Linked DNA regions of Homo sapiens: all the other regions are linked to region 5. The links are contacts of gene promoters, found by promoter capture Hi-C in blood cells and fetal thymus (Javierre and others, 2016). All regions are on one chromosome and are shown on one strand. The core of a region is centred on a gene start or on the middle of the fragment in contact, and the rest is flanking DNA. Distances in the headings are between cores, read along the strand shown. Region 1 holds the start of LOC124902194 (a long non-coding RNA gene). Region 2 overlaps AGTPBP1 (ATP/GTP binding carboxypeptidase 1). Region 3 holds the start of IPPK (inositol-pentakisphosphate 2-kinase). Region 4 holds the start of NAA35 (N-alpha-acetyltransferase 35, NatC auxiliary subunit). Region 5 holds the start of CKS2 (CDC28 protein kinase regulatory subunit 2). Region 6 holds the start of MIRLET7A1HG (miRlet-7a-1/let-7f-1/let-7d cluster host gene).

Region 1 (2,997 bases), core at 416-2,915, 3.0 Mb after region 5:
CGCCGCCTCCTTCGCCTCCGGCCCCTCTTTGCAACGATAAACAAGTCCCGGGCGGGGCTGCTCTCTTGGCCCCGGAAACTACGTTTCCCGTCAGGCCGCGCGGCAACCGCGTGCGGGCCGGAGGGGATCCCGGGGGTGGGCGTCCCCGGGGGCCGATCGCCTCCACACTCCTGCCGGCCTGCGCTGTTCGGCCGTTCCGGTTAAGCAGAGGCTGAACGTGCCCGGTGGCGGGGGTTCCCGGTGGTGGCCCGGAGTCCTAGCCTGGAGGTGCGTGGGGTGGGGAGGGACCAGGCTGTCCGAAGGACCGCTGTGTCGGGGCGACAGCGTTCGCAGAGGGCGAGCACAGCGACAACAAAGCCCCCGGCTCCTGCCGAGGTCACGGCCGCGGCGCGCAAAGCGTTACTTGCCGGTGTCCTGGGTGATTGAGGCCTTTGAAACTCCCTCTGTGCCTCTAGCAAGCCTAGGCTCTTAGGACAAAAGATGATTTCCCAGAGTGAGTTTACAGCCTTTTCTGGGTGAAAGGTCAAACACTCAGAGGGCACCAGAGTGCAACCATTGATTACTTAGAGAATTCACTGAGCTCAGTGTTCCGGCCGCACCGTTCAGTTTTTTAGTGGAAGGAAAATCCACATAACATAAAATTAGTCCTTTTAAAGGGTACAATTCAGTGCCATTTAAGACATTCACAGTGTCGTGCAACCATCACCTCTATCTAGTTCCAAAATACTTTCACCCCAAAAGAAAAATTTATGATCACGTTCCTACATACACTCCCCTTTTAGTGAAGGAGACGACTTTATGCAACCATTCGCTTAGAGACTGGGAAAAAAAACGATTTAAATTGACTCATCGATTCTGTTGCATCTAATGCCAAAAGGGCCTATTACCAGAAAATAAGTTTGTAGCAAAGTAGAAGAAAATTGTGATCAGGTGAGAGAATTTATTTTTATAATCAATTTTTTAGGCCTTTGATATTACCCTGATTATATATGGTACTACTAGTGTACTGATTATGTATCATTCTATATTACCTCTTTTCTGTAGGAGCAAGCTTATTTTCATACACCGTGGGATGTAGAATTAAACAAGGTTTTAAGAACTAGAGGGCACAACTCATTCTTTGTGTCTCTTTCAATCTCAGTAAGAATTATTCAGAATTCTTCCACTGGTAATGGTAGATCCAGGAAGAGCCAGAAGGTTCAGGAACAGTTTTTGCCTTTTCTTTTTTGCTTTTTAGCAACCCTATTAACTGGGTTTTTTGTTTTTTGTTTTTTGTTTGTTTGTTTGTTTTTGTTTGTTTTGTTTTTGGAGACAGGGTCTCACTCTATCTCCCAGGCTGTAGTTCAGTGGTGCAATCATGGCACACTGCAGCGTCAACCTCCTGGGCCCAAGCGATCCTCCCACCTCAGGCTCCCAAGTCGCTGGGACCACCGGTGTGCACCGTCATGCATGCACCTAGGGTCTCCCTGGGTTGCCCAGGCTGGTCTCGAACTCCTGGGCTCAAGCAGTCCACTGCCTCAGGCTCCCAGTGTGCAGGGATTACAGGTGTGAGCCACCATGCCTGGTCCCTGATGTCTTTCTCCATCACCATTTGACATGTTACCTCTTCCTTCAGAATTTCTTTTTTTTTTTTTTTTTTTTGAGACAGGGTTTCGCTGGGTTGCCCAGGCTGGAGTGCAGTGGCGTGATCTCAGCTCACTGCAGCCTCTGCCTACTGAGTTCAAGCAACTCTCTGCCTCAGCCTCCTGAGTAGCTGGGATTACAGACGCCCACCACCATGCCCAGCTTATTTATTTATTTATTTTTGTATTTTTAGTAGAGATGGGGTTTCACCATCTTCACCAGGCTGGTCTTGGACTCCTGACCTCGTGATCCACTCGTCTCAGCCTCCCAAAGTGCTGGGATCACAGGCATGAGCCACCGTGCCTTGCCCTTCCTTCAGAATTTCTATGTCAGTCCCTTTCTCTCCATTCCTAGTCATTCAGCAGACATTTATCAAGATCTGCTGTGTTTCAAGACAAATGAATGAGTTATACAGTTCCCAGCCTACGGGGCACAGTCGCAGGCCAAGCCTTTGCCACCTCTTACTAGGAGTAATAGCACTGCACATTCTCAGGCTTGGTCTCTCTCCACACTTGCTCCCCTCTGCTTCAGTACATGTTATCATAGCAGTTCTCAAGGTATCCATGTTGCCTGACTCAGCTGTTTTGATTAACTTGCAGGAGTCTACTGTCTGTACTCTGTTGTCCTACTTAAGTATGGCTGACTTTAGAAGCTTCTCAGAAGCTGTACCAGAGAGAAGGCACATCAATGCTGTTTTCCACACAGCCTGTGTTGGTGGGCTTGCAGTCATTTTAGTTCCAGCATTCGTGCCCTAGTCAGGACACTATGGCATGTATTGCTCTTTGTGCTTAGTTTATCATCAGCATGTATCGTCAAGTGCAAAAGTAGTGATGCCGTCAAAGGCCTAATGAATGGAGACAGATAAGAGAGCAAACAAAAGTATACGTAATTCAGTAAAACTGATTGGAAGAGGTAAATGTTACTTGGGTCTAATAAGTAGAGACAGATAAGAGCAAACACAAGTATACCTAATTCAGTAAAACTGATTGGAAGGGATAAATGTTACCTGGATATATAAATTTTGATGTTAGGAATTTGACATGTTGCAACATTTGAAAAGTGCTATATGTGTGGAGTCTACCAGATGTCAACAAAAGGCTAGGAAAAGTAACTGATAATATAACACAGTTCAATGCTGTCATTATCAGATTATCTACATCTTCCCTATTTCCCTACATATCTAGAAATTGACAAGTGGAATTGAACTTGCAGGAGCCAGATGTGATTAAAGAATCTGAAGAGTAAATAGTGCCCTGCTTGCAGACAGATTTATTTCCATCATTGTACAAGTCAGAGCAACTCTAATTTGTAGGACTGGGGTGGATCACAGCTGTGCATTAAAACTCAACCAAGTTCTATGAGAGAATGATGGTG
Region 2 (2,713 bases), core at 13-2,512, 3.6 Mb after region 5:
ACCCCGGATCCCTGCGCCCCTTACCTGACGGGTTGTGTAACGCATGTTACACATGTGACGCGTGAGGGGAACGCACTCGGTCTTGAGGGAAAGCCCTGACGGGGTGGGGCTTTGACTGGGTCTGGAAAACGCCTTCCCCAGTCCCCGGACCCTCGGTGGATCCCCGTCCCAGACCTTGCGGAGGGTATCGGGCGCGGTCTCTGGGCGGAGGCCGCCCTTTCTGCTCAGCCCTTTCTCTCGGGCCCGAGCTCGCGGCGCCGCGGGGAGTCCAGCCGAGGGGCTGCAGGGCCGGGGGCGGGCGCGCCCAGCCCCGCTCTCCCCCGCCCCAGTGGTAGCGGGCCGCTGAATCGCGGGCCCCTGTGCTTCGAGAATTCTAGCGTTCCCGACTGAGCGCCAGCAAGGTGGGATTTGCTGTGACATCGGCGATGGGCACGTTTGCTTCCTCTCGCTGGGTGGTTTGAGCTGAAGTGTGTCTTCTGTTTACAACTTGTCGCCTTGAGCGTTTGGTTTGAACCTGAATCAGATCACCCTGGATGACAGTGCAGAGTTTCCTTAGTGTCTTCCTTCCTGAATTGCGGGTTCTCAATTGCAAGTGTTCAAGGACTGTTGTAACCCAAAGGCTTGCTCGACTCTACCGTTGTTTTACCCCTTGTGCGGTATAAACCTCTTACGAGCACCAGGGCAATTGGAGTTGGTTGGGTTCCTTTCTTGGGCGTTTACTCATTGTAGAATGGAGTTTTCATGCATCATAGTGTAATCGATGTGAATGTTGATAATTTAAAGCCCATTTCCCGTTTTAACATAGCTTACTCAAGTGCCTGAAGATAGCGGAAATTTTCTTTGGCAGTATTAATTCTATGTGGGTTTTTTCCTTCAGGTGTTTAACATTGTAGTTGTGTTTAATTACAATGCATGACAATTTGTAGTTAGAAAGGACCTTAACAGTCTTCTTAATCGGTCATTTTCACTTACCTTTTATGTCCGTTTTTTAAGCTTTATGTAAATCAAATTATCCTTTGTGAACTTCTGAATTATTCTTATAAACTGGTTGTCTGAGAAAACCGGAAAGTTATTTTTGTAATTGTATTGTGGAATGTTTTTAGTTCAGTAGGCCAAAAAAGAAATGATTTATTTAAGGAACTTTAAATGGTGCTTATTTTAAAACATGTGCCAAATGTCAAAACCAAACAAAACTCTGAAAGATCTGTATTTCCTATGTAGAATTACTGCGAAATAATAAGTCGTGCCTTACCCACTGTTTCTCATCATGCAGGCAGAGTTCTAATATGACTTGCTCTTTTTCCCATTCCACTTCTCTTAAGTTAAATTCTATGGTGAAGTTACAGGTTCATTTTTAATGATCACAAAACTCTGCCTTGAATTGATTAATCACATAATTACAACTGCAGACTCACTCTGAACTCGGAAATGAAGTGGATAGGCTTAAAACTACCCTCGTATTTGGCCAACATTGCAAAGCATTTAAATCTATTAATTAAACTTTTGTAGAAGCAATTTTTATAAAGCTTTTCCGAATTGAGGCATTCTTCTCTTTAGAAAAGTCTGGCTAGGCTGCTATATAATAATGGTTTTACTTCCATTAGCAGAAGGAAAAGAGGTCCAACAGTTATGAAATTTTGTAATTTGTATTTTACTTTTTTTTTTTTTTTGAGACGGAGTCTCACTCTCTCGCCCAGGCTAGAGTGCCAGTGGTGCGATCTCGGCTCACTGCAACCTGCCCCTACCGGGTTCAAGCGATTCTCCCGCCTCAGCTTCTTGATTATAGGCGCGCGTCACCACGCCTAGCTAATTTTTGTGTTTTTAGTAGAGACGGGTTTCACCATGTTGGCCAGGCTGGTATCGAACTCCCAACCTCAGGTGATCCACTAGCCTCAGCTTCTTAAGGTGCAGGGATTACAGGCGTGAGCCACCAAGCTTGGCCTGAATTTTTTTTTTTTTTTTTTTGAGACGGAGTTTCGCTCTTGTCGCCCAGGCTGGAGTGCAGTGGCACGATCTTGGCTCACTACAGCCTCTGCCTCCCGGGTTCAAGCGATTCTCCTGCCTCAGCCTCCCGAATAGCTGGGATTACAGGAGCACACCACCACGCCCGGCTAAGTTTTTGTTTTTAGTAGAGACGGGGTTTCACCATGTTACCCAAGCTCGTCTTGAACTCCTGACCTCAGGTGGTCTGCCCACCTCGGCCTCCCAAAGTCCTGGGATTACAGGCGTCCGCCACCACGCCCGTCCTGGCCTGAATTTTTTTAAACCTCATCCAAAGTATTCATCTTCCCAAATCTGCTTTTCTTGCTTGAAGTCCCCCACTATCTGAAAGTTGAACAGTGCGTGAATAGCAATGGATGCACCTGTCAGAGGGCCATCTGCAAGATGGGAGCTTTCCTTAGGCAATGGGTTTCAGTATAAACAACATAAATTTTGTAGGGTGGGCACTGAATTTTAAACTTCAGATGTTATTGTTGATTACTGTGCCTGTGTACTATGGTGTAGTGGCTAAGGAGTTGGGCCTCAGAGCCAGATGGCTCGGTTTGGGTCCTGGCTTTGCTTTAGGCAAGTTATTTTTATTTTTATTTTTTTAAGACAAGTTATTTGTCCTTTTTGTACTTTAATTTTCTCAGCTCCAAAAATGACATAATATTAGTGTATACTCTTAAGATATTCTCAAATATTAAGTGATTAATACAAGTAAAGTGCTTAG
Region 3 (2,773 bases), core at 101-2,600, 3.4 Mb before region 5:
CCTGAGTCACTGGCCTGATTTCACTACAATTCCCAAGGCCTGGCAAGGTGCCCAGCCGTTCTCAAAGTTGGGTCTGCAGGTCCTCTCTTTGTGAACTACATAACTGCAGATGTTCTTCACAATGTGTATGTCAACCAATGCAATATATTGCAGCAGACCGAATGCCGAAGCACATGTGAGAACCTATTAGGTCAGATTTTAAAAAGATTTGCAAAAGTGTAAAACAATACCACTCCTTTATTTTGGTGGTGGGCGTGGAATGTAATGTTTACTTTTTTTTTTTTTTTTTTTTTTGAGATGGAGTCTCACTCTGTCGTCCACGCTGGAGTGCAATGGCGCGATCTTGGCTTACCGCAACCTCCGCCTCCTGGGTTCAAATGATTCTCTTGCCTCAGCCTCCGGAGTAGCTGGGATTACAGGCCTGCGCCACCATACCTGGCTCATTTTTGTATTTTTAGTAGAGACAGGGTTTCACCATGTTGGCCAGGCTGGTCTCAAACTCCTGACCTCAGGTGATACGCCCGCCTCAGCCTCCCAAAGTGCTGGGATTACAGGCGTGAGCTACCGCGCCCGGCTGTTTACTTTTAAACGAAACAACAAAAAACTTTAAAGCATTTTAACTTAGAATGTGGTAACATCGATAGCTGTAACCCACATTAGCAAAAGCTTGGGGCCCTCATTTTTATGAGTATAAAGTGGTCCTGAGACTACGAGTTTGGGAAATGCGGTAGCTCTACGAGGCGGTGCCATTCTTGCCGCCGCATCAGTGAATTTAGGAGAAGGAAGGTCGTTAGCCCTCTGCCTCACCGCCAAGCAGGAGCCTTGCGCTCCAACTGCGTCCCTCGAAGTCTTCAGGCAAAAGCGGGACTGGGGAGTCCAGTCCTGTGGCCCAGCCACATTTCCTCGCGTAGAACGTTGGACAATGTTTTCTACCTCACAGGACCATCCAAATGACTGCGTTAGGTATTCCCATGAAATGTACGATGAGTACACCCTATTCTACAGAAGCAAAAGCTGAGGCTCAGAGACGCCAAGAGGTTTGCTGGGGTCTCGCGACTAAGCGGTCCCAACACCCAGACACCCTGGCTACCCGGGGACTGCCGGTCACTACCGGGCGCCGAAAAGCCGCCGGCTCCTTCCGCCAGCTACACATCCGGCGCCGAGGCCGGAAGCTTCTCTTCCGGCTCCCAAGACCGCGTTCCGGAAATGAGTCGCTCTACCAGTACCTAAGATGGCCGCCGGCCCATCCACCGTCGCGATCGGTGTGAGGAAAGTGTCACGAACCCGGAATTGCCCGACTCCGTCATGGCAGGCGCCGGGGGCGTGGCTTCCGGCGGCCACAGCTTGCTAGTCGCCGCGGCGGGGTCGAGCGGGGGCGGCAGCTGACAGGCGCTCCTCCCCCGACCGCAGCGGCTGGTTCCCAGCGAGGCGGGCGGCCCCCAGCTCGCGTCCCCGAGTCCTAGCCCGCGAGGCGCCAGGGCTGCGCCTGGGCATGGAAGAGGGGAAGATGGACGAGAATGAATGGGGGTACCACGGAGAGGGCAATAAGAGCCTGGTGGTGGCCCACGCGCAGGTGAGCGGTGGACGTGCGGCGCAGGTCCGGTACCTCACTCCGACGGCCGGTATCACCCCGCCCCCATTATCCGTTTCCTCAACAGGGTCGGTTCCACGTCCCCCCAGTACCTTCCTCCTCCCCGGCCGGTCTCCGGAATTCCCCCACCCTCCAGCATCCCCCCCTACCGCTTGGGTTCCTCATCACCCCAGTATCCCCTCTCTACTGGGTCAGTCTCCCATTGCCCCAGATCCTTCTCCTGGCCGGTCTGTCGTCCCCTCAGTATTCCCGTTCCCCGTCAGAGTCAGTTCCACATCCCCCTCCCCGCCCCGTCGGTGCCGCGCTCAGCCTCACGCGGTGCCGCCTCCCGCCTGGATGCCCGCCGGACTGCCAGGCCGCAGTGGGGTGGAGGCTTGGTTGGGACGGAGGGCCCGGCCAGCACTGGAGGAAGAAGCAGAGTGCCCACAGTGCTGTTACTCTCAGCACCAAAAGAGTTCAGCCTCGTGAGACTACGGAATTGCTGTGCTGTTAATAGTAAGGGGATGTTGTCCACAGGTCCTCTTCTCAACCTTTTAGAATTTGAAGGCTTTCACCTGAATTCAACGAGGGTGAAAGTTTTAGAAACTGCAGTAAGATCTCGCAAAGGTGAATCCCAAGAGTGAAGCGTGTGGGTTTCTGTGAGGGCCCAGATCTCTCTGACCTTTTGCTGTCTGGTACAACCACGCAGGAATGTGGCCGGCTGGAACGGGGGAGGGGGGTGAGGGAGGCGAGGATAGGTGTCATGTAGGGAGGAGTTAGAGCATGGGTGTTAAAGGCACAGGAATCTCAGTGTCTACATTTGTGAAGTGGAACTAGTAGTAGAATTCACTTTGTGGGATTGTTGCAAAGACCAGTTACGCAGGAACCCATCAAGTTATGCTTAGCAAGTGATAATTGTCATCCCTTGGACAGATAAATAAAGTGAAAATCAGAGAGGTTAAGGGCATTGCCCGAGTCGAACAGCTTGTCAGGGATGATGTAGGCAGTGGAGTCCTGCCTTGCTTCTGTTGTTCCTATGCTGGGTGCATTGGTCAGCTGTAGTGTAAGCTGCAAACACCCAGGTAGCCCCTAGGTTGTGCCTTTGGATTTTGTTGCTCATTAGCACAGGGAACTAAAGAACAGAGACTACAAGCTTTGCTCAAGATCTTTAGGTGAATTAATAATGGACCAGGCTAACCTAAA
Region 4 (2,756 bases), core at 247-2,746, 3.4 Mb after region 5:
GACAATCTTAAACAAGGAATGATGTGATCTGATCATACTGAAACCTCAAACATACAAAAATACTATTATCTTTTAGATTAACAAAGTGTTTTCCACAGTTAGAAATTACTGCTCTCTCTAACCTGTTAAAGCAAGAAAAATTCAATTTTAAAATACTGCCTCAACATCTGTATTTAATGCTGTATCAAATATACATTTGCTTTAAAGTTAAAATTAGAGGATACAGAATAAGTGTGGCTAACAAACTCAACAAACCACATTTACCTGTTGATTTCATCTAATGAGGTAAGTTTAGAAAGCACAATCGTCATTCTACCCCTTCCAGATGCTGAACTTCTAATCCAAAAATCAGACTCACCTCGACAAGCTTCTTCAAAATCTTGGGTAATGTCCACCCAGTTTGTATTGCTTTTCTCCATTTTTTCTGGCATACTGAGCTCCCATCCTGAATCGTCATCATCTACAGAAGCTTTCATAACCATTATGCCTGTAAAATTAATACTGATGTAAGAGAGAGGATGTAGCTTTCAGGGCAAGAGTATTTGCAGAAATGGGTGTTTGTTTCAGCATAGGATGAAGTCTTAACTAAACTCTTTAAAGCAGAACTCTTCTGAGTCTAAGGACAGTACTGCAAAGAATAACCTTAATGCAATCAAATCGCACGTCAATTAACACTCCTGCTGCTTACTATTAGCCCACCACCTACCAGGGCCCATAAACATTTTGCCTTCCTACTGTTTAAGAAGAAAAATCACAAACCATCTCACCTCTGGCCCGAAAAGAACAACTCCAGAGCTTCCAACTTTCAATAATAGCCACAAAAGACCAAGGCACTATTCAGGGTCCCCTCTCGCAGCCCAGGACCCCATGCGGCAGCTACCGAAGTCAATCAAGGTAGCCCTTCATCTGGCCAGAGCTCGCTGGGACCTCTCCCGGGCCAGAGCCGGCCCGGACCCAGGCAGAACCTCGCCGGGAGCAATGAGGAGCCGGCAGGCACCGCAGGGTCCCGCCGGCCGGGCCTAGGGCCGAGGCACACCTGAGGCGGGCACACGCTTCCCTTCCGCCCTGCCCGGGTCAGCCCAGCCCAGCCCCGGTCCCACTGGGCGCATAAGCAAGGACAGAGCTGTCGCCGCGCGGGAGGGCGGGCACGTCCGGCGCCGGGTCGTCGCCTCGGCAACACCGGGCAAGAGTGGGGCCTCGGCCGACAGCGGGCACTGGGGAGCCCGCCGCTCCTACCTGACGCGCAGCGGGAGGGCCGGGGCCGCAGGGTGACCTGGGGTCCCCAGGATCTGCCACACGCGCGGGGGGCTGCGGCTCTCGGACACACGAGCGAGAGGGTTTCAATGGCTACGCAGGGGCGGTCCCTACCTACTTCTCCCGTGGTCACCCGCGCCGCCACGCACTGTCCGGACCACGGAAATAACGACGCCGCCTCGGCCGCCGCCGCCCCCTCCCCTCTCAGCCCAGCCCGACCGGCAGCGTGCACGCATGCGTATGCCCGGGACGCGCGACCCCGCCCCCTCTCCCTTACTCCCGGGGACTTCGCGCTCCCCGGCCACACCCCCTCCCTCGCCACCGCCTCCGTTCGGCCGATGGCGGCCGCCTTCTCTTCTCGCGAGATTAGAGACGATCGCGAGACCGGAAGTTATCTTTTTTCACCCTCTGTCGGAGTCCTGGGTAGTGGGCGGTTCCCGGAAAGAGGCGGAGCCCGGAGTCTCAGAGCCCGCCCCGTCTGCGCTGCCCTCTGGGAATTTCTTAGAAAGGTGACGCGAAGGCGGAAGGAAACCGTGGAGGTTTGCGTAGACCTTAGTGGTTGCGAGCACGAACGAGCAGCCAAGCTCCGAGAGCAACAGCGTGCTACTGCTGCCTGACAACGGATTTATGTTTCCTATACAGCGCCTGGGAGTTTCGTGAGGAAACATAGATTCAAAATATCTGCAAAGTCAAGCCAGACATTTAATTTCAGATTCTTATATGTTTTAGATTTTTTTAATTTATTAATAAAATGATCAGTTTTTAAATGGGGTTACATAAATAGACGGGCGCAGGTAAGAAGCACATCTTTATCACCACCTGTTCTTTAGGATGGCCCAAAATTAAAAGATGGAAAAGATAATACCAAATGTTGGCAAGGATGCAGAGCAACTGGACCTCTGTTATGTTGGTGGTGGTAATGCAAAATGGTACAACCACTTTGGAAAACTTAACAATCTCTCCTTATAATCATATACTTATCATTCGATCCAGTAATCTACGAATTTACTTAGGAACAAAAACATATTCATACAAAGGCTTGTACGTTAATGTTCATACCAGCTTTGTTTTGCTTTGTTTTTGTTTTTGTTTGAGACAGAGTGTCACTCTTGTCGCCCCTGCTAGAGTGCAGTGACCTGATCTCGGCTCATTGCAACCTCTGCCTTTCAGGTTCAAGCAATTCTCGTGCCTCAGTCTCCCGAGTAGCTGGGATTACAGGCGCCTGCCCCCACACCAGGCTGTTTTTTGTATTTTTAGTAGAGATGGGGTTTCACCATGTTGGTCAGGCTGATCTCAAACTCCTGACCTCGTGATCTGCCCACCTCAGCCTCCCAGAGTGCTGGGATTACAGGTATGAGCCACCGTGCCTGGCCCAGCTTTGTTTTTAATCATCAAAAACTACAGACAACCCAAATGTCCATCAACTGTTGAATAAAAACAATTTGTGGCATATCCATACAATGTAATGAATGTAATTATCAATAAACAGGGATAAACTACTT
Region 5 (2,846 bases), core at 225-2,724:
GAAAAACATGCTATTTTTCTAGCTAGGAATACAAAAGGGTGCAATTACTACTACCCATAGAAATATTCAGTAGTCCTCATGTGAAAACAGACTTCCATGCTACTAGGGAGGGGGAGAAAAAGAGAAACCACCCACTGTTTTGTTCTTTCTTCCTTAAATAGCATTCGGAGAAATCTAACCTACAAAGGCAGCAGACAGAAAACAAGGTCACAATTTGGCCAACGATGGCATGGGCTTTATCTCCCCTAAATCTTGGTAGTATCCCAGAACGCAGCGTTCTAGTCGCTACCTAGTTAAGAAAAAGGGGTTGACTGTTTTCTGAAGCCACGCCCTAAATGAAGTGTCCCGCATACAGTAAGGACAACAAATTTTAAATGTCCCTACTCGCTTTCCCCCAATCTACTTTAATTGGGGGGAAGGGGACAGGGACATTTAAAATTTGTCTAATTTTACTGATCGATTACAGCCACCATGTTCTAGTACGGTGCTTCAGGACTCAAACGCAAAAGTTTCTCAAAGCCCAAAATTTGGCCAGTGTATACTAGCAGAAAATGATGCCCAAAGTCCACTCAAGTTCTTAATCGGCCTTAAAATGAAACTCCTTTAATAATACCCTCAATTGTATGACTGCGGCTAACCTATAATGGCCCAAATCACCATACCCAGTAAACATTTTCGAATCCCCATCAAGCTCATTTTTCGGGGGGTCGCCTCCAAAGCTTATTCTTATACCACTCACTTCAAAAACAAGAAAAAGAAAAGTGTTCCTCTGTGTTAACAGATGAAAATGACCATTTGACCATTCTAAACCACAAACTAGTAAAAGCTGCATCACCCCGTCAGCGACAGGGAAAGTGTGTCACGGTTGCTAAAGGAAAAAGGACGGCACCAGGTGGGTTTTCCTGGACTGGTTCAAAGAACTGGAACTGAGACCAGCTACTGAACGGCCTAATTACTTCGGCCACGGCCGAGAAAAAAGTGACGGGATGGTCACTCCGCGTCGCCGAGGACCCCATGACCCCCAAGTTGCGCCGGTTCCTACCCAGGTACTAAATGCGGCCCGGTGGGCACTCTTCCCTCACCCTCCGCGCACACCGAACAAAGGCCCAACCGGCCCGGCGCGGCCAGGCACCCAACCATGTCCGACTGCGCGGGGCGCCAGGTGGCCGCGACCCCAAACCCCGGCCCTCGCCCTCCGGCCCCGGGCTCCGCCCCCCAGGCCCCGGCCCCCACCCCCGACCCTACTATGCCTGGGTCGCCCCGCCCGCGGGGGCCCCGGCTGAGGGAGCCGGCTCGGGGTCTAAGAAAGGCGCCCACCGGTACTCGTAGTGTTCGTCGAAGTACTTGTCCGAGTAGTAGATCTGCTTGTGGGCCATCCTGCTGGCGCGCTGCAGAAAATGAAACGAGAGCGCGAAGAGCGGGCGCAGCAGACAAAACCACGTCCAGCCCAGGCAACAACTCGCCGGAGACTAACGACCGCAGTCCCAACGATCCGGATTTGAATCCGACAGCCCGCCGCCGATTGGACAGCAGCGCCGACCAATCACCTTCTGCGGAAGTCGGCCGGCTGCCAGCCTATCGTCGCCGCCGCCTCGCAAAGTCCGCTTCCTGGGTCAGCCAATCAGAGATCTGTTGCGAGGTTGCCCGAGGGAAGATAGGTACGTCACGGGGGTGGCAGGGCCCTTAACGGGCAGGGGCGTGGCCAGAGGAGGGCGAAGTCGGGACGTTAAGGGCCGCAGAGCGCGTGCGCAGGAACGTGGAAAGTTCCAGGACACGGAACCGTTGGGACGGAGGACCTGAAGGTGGAGTGAGGTATCACGGGGTTTGGTGATGACGTAGTCGGTCGAGGCCGGAAGCGTGGGCCACAGGGCTTTGAGCGGAAGCTGTCGACCTTGCACGGTGATGGCGCTCCTCGTGATCCCTTGTATCCCCTCAGGCTCGAGCCAGGAGCCTAGGTCCACTTTGAAAAGTAGTAAAAGGCAGAAAGGTTCTGCGGTGTGAGGGGGAGGGCGGCTTCGTGGTCGGCTGGGTCGGGGGAGCGCCGGGCGGCCGCGGCGTGGCTGTGTCCGGGGCTGCCCTGCGCAGCCGGCCGTTTCGCCGCCTGGTGCACTTGCTGAGCTTCCGGCCTGGCCCGTCGCGGGGCTCCTGGCGCCCCCCTAGACGACTGTGTGGAGAATGGAGCCTGCGGAGCCACGCGTAGAGAGAGGCCCGGAGCCGGCGCGGTGGCGGCGGGCGCCAGTGGTCCCAGCCACTCGGGAGGCCGAGGTGGAGTGTCGCTTGAGCCCAGGAGTTCCAGACAGGCCTGAGCAACAGAGCCAGACCCCGTCTCCACAAAGAAAGAAACAAATGGGCCAGAGACCCAGAATGCTTTCTGTAGCCTAACCTAATGTTCAAAACCAGGGCAGACCCAAGCCATGGAAAGCTTGAGGGAATAAAATAATATTCTGCTGCGGCCAAGAATAACAATGCTAATTCCTGGATAAGGGGATTTAAAATGATGTTTAACAACTTCTGGTCTTTTAATATTGACCCAAGTTTAAAAACATGTTCATATAAAAAAGTTACTGGAAGAAATTTATAAATGTAACTGGTGGTTATTTTTAGATGACAGAATTAAAAGTGATCTTTTTGGTATTTTTTCCACAACGAGCACGTGTCATTTTTATGTTAATTTCATTTTATGCGAAATGCTCCAGCGCAGTACAGGCTAGTGGGTTCAGGGTGGCTGTGACTAAGTAATGTAGATGGGGTACCTTAGACAAAGTTTCCAGACTAGAGGCTGGAAGTAAGAGGTCCGGGTGCCCTTTTCCACACTGCAGACCACGGACTTTTCCGGTTTCTGAACA
Region 6 (2,700 bases), core at 66-2,565, 4.9 Mb before region 5:
CAATTATTTCCTAAACTACACATAAATTTGGAATTTGACATTCAATGTTCTTATACTTCAGGCCAACAGAAATAAATGCAAAGGAATGCCACATGATGCTTTAACTTTAGGAACTGTATGCCAAGAAAGCAGTATTATCAATGAAGTTAAAAAGCAAAACTCAACCAGTCTCCTGATTTACCTCAAAATTTTAACATTCACTGTCTTCCCTGCCTTTTTCCTGTCTGCCCGCCCTCTCGTTAGTCAATTTTTTAAAAACCGGTAAGTTGAAGAATACATACCATTACCTCTGACACAGAATCTACTGTAAAAAGTTGAAAGACCGAAGGGCATTACTGGCCAAGGACATACAGGTTACCACATTCCTCACACTAGAGCCCGCCCGGGAAGTTTATTAGCAAGCCTTCTGAGAGGCACTCGGTTCCAAGAGTTTGCAGCGTCGACTCAAAAGGCCAGCGCTGTTTCCGGTGACACCGAGTCGCAAATCTCCAAGCCCCGTCCCCCGGGATACGATTTCCTCCCGCTCCCGCGTTCCCCTCCCCCTCGCCAAGGACGGCTGCCGCAGCGGACCTCCAGCCGCAGCAGCTGCTTCAGGAAGGGAGGCTGCACTTGGCCGCGGGGAGCAGGGGCATGCAGCCAGCCACGACTCTCCCGCCCTCCCCGCCCGCGCCTTCCCGCCCTGTCCCCCCGCCCCTCGCACTTCCTACCTTCCCTCCTTCATCCCAACCCCCAAGGCCAAGGTCTCCCCGGCCCACAAACTTGATAGCGGAAGTGACGTCAGAGGCACCTGGCGGCGCCTACAACCAGTCACGCCACAGTCAGAGGCGGCGCCGGCCAACAGGCGCCGGCCGGAAGGCGGGCCTTCCGCCCGCCCCAAGTTTGATTGAAGCGGGGGGAAGGGCGGGGTAAGGAATGTGAAGAATGACCCCCCCTCCCCCGCCCTGTCGGTGAGGAGCTGGGCGGGAAGCGGAGGGGGTTGGAGCCGGCCCCGCGGCGGCCACGCGGCACCCCTCCCCCGTGCCCCGAGCGCCCGCGACTTCCGCTAGCAGCCCGCCGGCCCCCCGGGGCCACCCGCCCGCTGGAGGGGGCAGGCCGCCCCACCAGTCCCAGCCCGCGTTAGCCGGACAGGCGCGGGCCGGCGCACGGCTCTCCCATTCTGCCCACCCGCTGCCGCGAGTCTCCGCGAAATAAAATGGCGACGGACCCGCGCTCGCTGCCGCGTCCGCCATACCCACCTCGCGCTCGCGGAGAGGGCCGTCGCGGCCGTGGGAATGCCCCGGCCCTCGCGCCCGTCGCTGCCGGGAGAGCACCGCGCCAGGACCCGGATGGAGGCGCGGGCGGGCGCCGCCGCGGCGGCCTGAGGGAAAGCAGCGCGGTCGCCGGGAGGCCGATGCAGGGGCGGGCGCCGCGGAAAGCGCGCAAGCCCATTGGTGAAGCCGTCTGATTGAAGTGCGCGTCGCTCTTTCGCCTTGGCCTAGCTGAGCTCGTCCGTCCCCTCACTGGAGGGCGGCGGCTGGGCCCGCCTCGCGCGGGGTGGCCACCGTGGGGGAGGCGGGTCTGGCCCGCCCACCAATACCATCTCCTTCTTTCCTAGTGGAGGGCTGAGAGAGTGGCGGGGGTGGTGTCCTCCAGGCCCTGCCCTTTGCGCGTGATGGGCTGGCTGTGTCACGTGGCCGCTGAACGCGCTGCCCGCGGGGCGGGGCGGCTGCTTTGCTCCCTCAGGCTCCTGGGGGCAATTTACACGTGCGCGACCCGGAAGGTCCGAACGCTGTCCAGCGTGCAGCCTCTGGCTCTTTTCCGTCAACTGACCCTGTTCCCTCCAGGAGGCCTTGGCCAGGCCTCCTGGAGTTCTGTGCCTCAGTTTGCTCATCTGTCAAATGGAGGAGTTGTGTCCGCCCAACCTTTTACTTTTATTCCTTGACGTTTTGGGGTCTGAGGGTTTTTTTGTTGTTTGTTTTTTCGAGACACGGTCTCTCGCTCTTTCTCCAGGGCTGGAGTGCAGTGGCGTGGGTCACGGCTCACTGTAGCCTCGACATCCGGACTCTAGAGATCCTCCCACCTCAGCCTCCCTGAGCTTTTTTTTGTTATCTTTTCCAACCCATGTTTTGAAGATTTTTGTCTTCAAATGTTTTTCAAAGCAATCCTTGATTTTGTTGTTTTAAAATTAATCCAAAGCCCAGTTCCTCCATCCCCATTACAACTTTCACATGCTAGGACTCTGAAATCACTAGTTAAGGTGTCGTTTGAGGTCTCTGCCAGTTTTAAGATTTTATGGCTGGGAACCGCAAGACCTGGGCTGTAGCTCTGCTTTTTGTAATTCATTGTGACTTTGTGCAACACTTTTAAAAAAGTGGGTCCTTGTCTGTAATAGAACTATGGGAAATAGTACTTGACATGCTGTACGTTTACATTTATGATCTTAGGTGGTGGTATCAGCTCCCCTTTTAGCACTCATATTAGTGTATGCAATAAGTGCCAAAGGAGTTTGTTTCGTTTTGTTTTTAATGGGGACTTTATTTTGTGAGCTAAAGTGAACAAGAAACTAGAGGGGGGGAAACTTGAGCTTAAGCCATGGGTAGGATTTGGGGAGGACTTCTTGAGGTTAGAAGATATATTGAGAAAGGAGAGAGCAGGCCCCAGAGCTAGATCGAGTACAGTTCAGGGGAAGAGTGTGGTTATGCTGCAGGGGATGTGGAACTC

The links. The method cuts DNA at HindIII sites, captures the fragments that hold promoters and counts their contacts. A CHiCAGO score of 5 or more calls a contact.
Region 1: a contact is called between a fragment that was not itself captured here and the fragment with the promoter of CKS2 in region 5, in 1 of 17 cell types (total CD4 T cells). The highest score is 7.6, in total CD4 T cells.
Region 2: a fragment that was not itself captured here is called in contact with the fragment with the promoter of CKS2 in region 5 in 1 of 17 cell types (naive CD8 T cells); the score reaches 5.3 in naive CD8 T cells.
Region 3: a contact is called between the fragment with the promoter of IPPK here and the fragment with the promoter of CKS2 in region 5, in 8 of 17 cell types (fetal thymus, total CD8 T cells, activated CD4 T cells and 5 more). The highest score is 18.9, in fetal thymus.
Region 4: the fragment with the promoter of NAA35 here is called in contact with the fragment with the promoter of CKS2 in region 5 in 8 of 17 cell types (fetal thymus, total CD4 T cells, neutrophils and 5 more); the score reaches 10.9 in fetal thymus.
Region 6: a fragment that was not itself captured here is called in contact with the fragment with the promoter of CKS2 in region 5 in 1 of 17 cell types (fetal thymus); the score reaches 5.1 in fetal thymus.

Annotation. Positions count from the first base shown.
Region 1 is chr9:86,279,239-86,282,235 of GRCh38, reverse strand. All of the region lies in intron 1 of ISCA1 (iron-sulfur cluster assembly 1), which reads left to right. It overlaps LOC124902194 (a long non-coding RNA gene), which reads left to right and starts at 155. Exons shown (of 2, transcript XR_007061634.1): 1 at 155-267; 2 at 783-2,997. RefSeq lists a silencer at 18-317. The HindIII fragment of the contact is 1,224 bases long and covers 1,054-2,277 here.
Region 2 is chr9:85,738,961-85,741,673 of GRCh38, reverse strand. The region is part of intron 1 of AGTPBP1 (ATP/GTP binding carboxypeptidase 1); the gene reads left to right. Among named protein-coding and RNA genes, the nearest start is that of AGTPBP1, 1.6 kb to the left of the region's middle. RefSeq lists a silencer at 67-386 and an enhancer at 557-706. The HindIII fragment of the contact is 533 bases long and covers 996-1,528 here.
Region 3 is chr9:92,668,708-92,671,480 of GRCh38, reverse strand. It overlaps IPPK (inositol-pentakisphosphate 2-kinase), which reads left to right and starts at 1,350. Exons shown (of 13, transcript NM_022755.6): 1 at 1,350-1,573. The coding sequence starts at 1,493. It overlaps LOC107987095 (a long non-coding RNA gene), which reads right to left and starts at 1,119. Exons shown (of 2, transcript XR_001746837.2): 1 at 808-1,119. RefSeq lists enhancers at 1-74, 829-878, 889-1,338, 2,079-2,248 and a silencer at 1,379-1,558. The HindIII fragment of the contact is 1,551 bases long and covers 1,175-2,725 here.
Region 4 is chr9:85,939,886-85,942,641 of GRCh38, reverse strand. It overlaps NAA35 (N-alpha-acetyltransferase 35, NatC auxiliary subunit), which reads right to left and starts at 1,496. Exons shown (of 23, transcript NM_024635.4): 1 at 1,369-1,496; 2 at 359-487. The coding sequence starts at 482. RefSeq lists a silencer at 913-1,592. The HindIII fragment of the contact is 5,629 bases long and covers 472-2,756 here.
Region 5 is chr9:89,309,823-89,312,668 of GRCh38, reverse strand. It overlaps CKS2 (CDC28 protein kinase regulatory subunit 2), which reads right to left and starts at 1,474. Exons shown (of 3, transcript NM_001827.3): 1 at 1,318-1,474. The coding sequence starts at 1,376. It overlaps MIR3153 (microRNA 3153), which reads right to left and starts at 444; the gene lies at 363-444. LOC105376136 (a long non-coding RNA gene) reads left to right here and starts at 1,867. Exons shown (of 3, transcript XR_930101.4): 1 at 1,867-2,846. RefSeq lists enhancers at 919-968, 1,639-1,928 and a silencer at 1,939-2,168. The HindIII fragment of the contact is 1,703 bases long and covers 722-2,424 here.
Region 6 is chr9:94,164,917-94,167,616 of GRCh38, reverse strand. It overlaps MIRLET7A1HG (miRlet-7a-1/let-7f-1/let-7d cluster host gene), which reads right to left and starts at 1,359. Exons shown (of 5, transcript NR_170278.1): 1 at 1,236-1,359. RefSeq lists silencers at 635-704, 935-1,734 and an enhancer at 1,430-1,994. The HindIII fragment of the contact is 4,683 bases long and covers 1-2,700 here.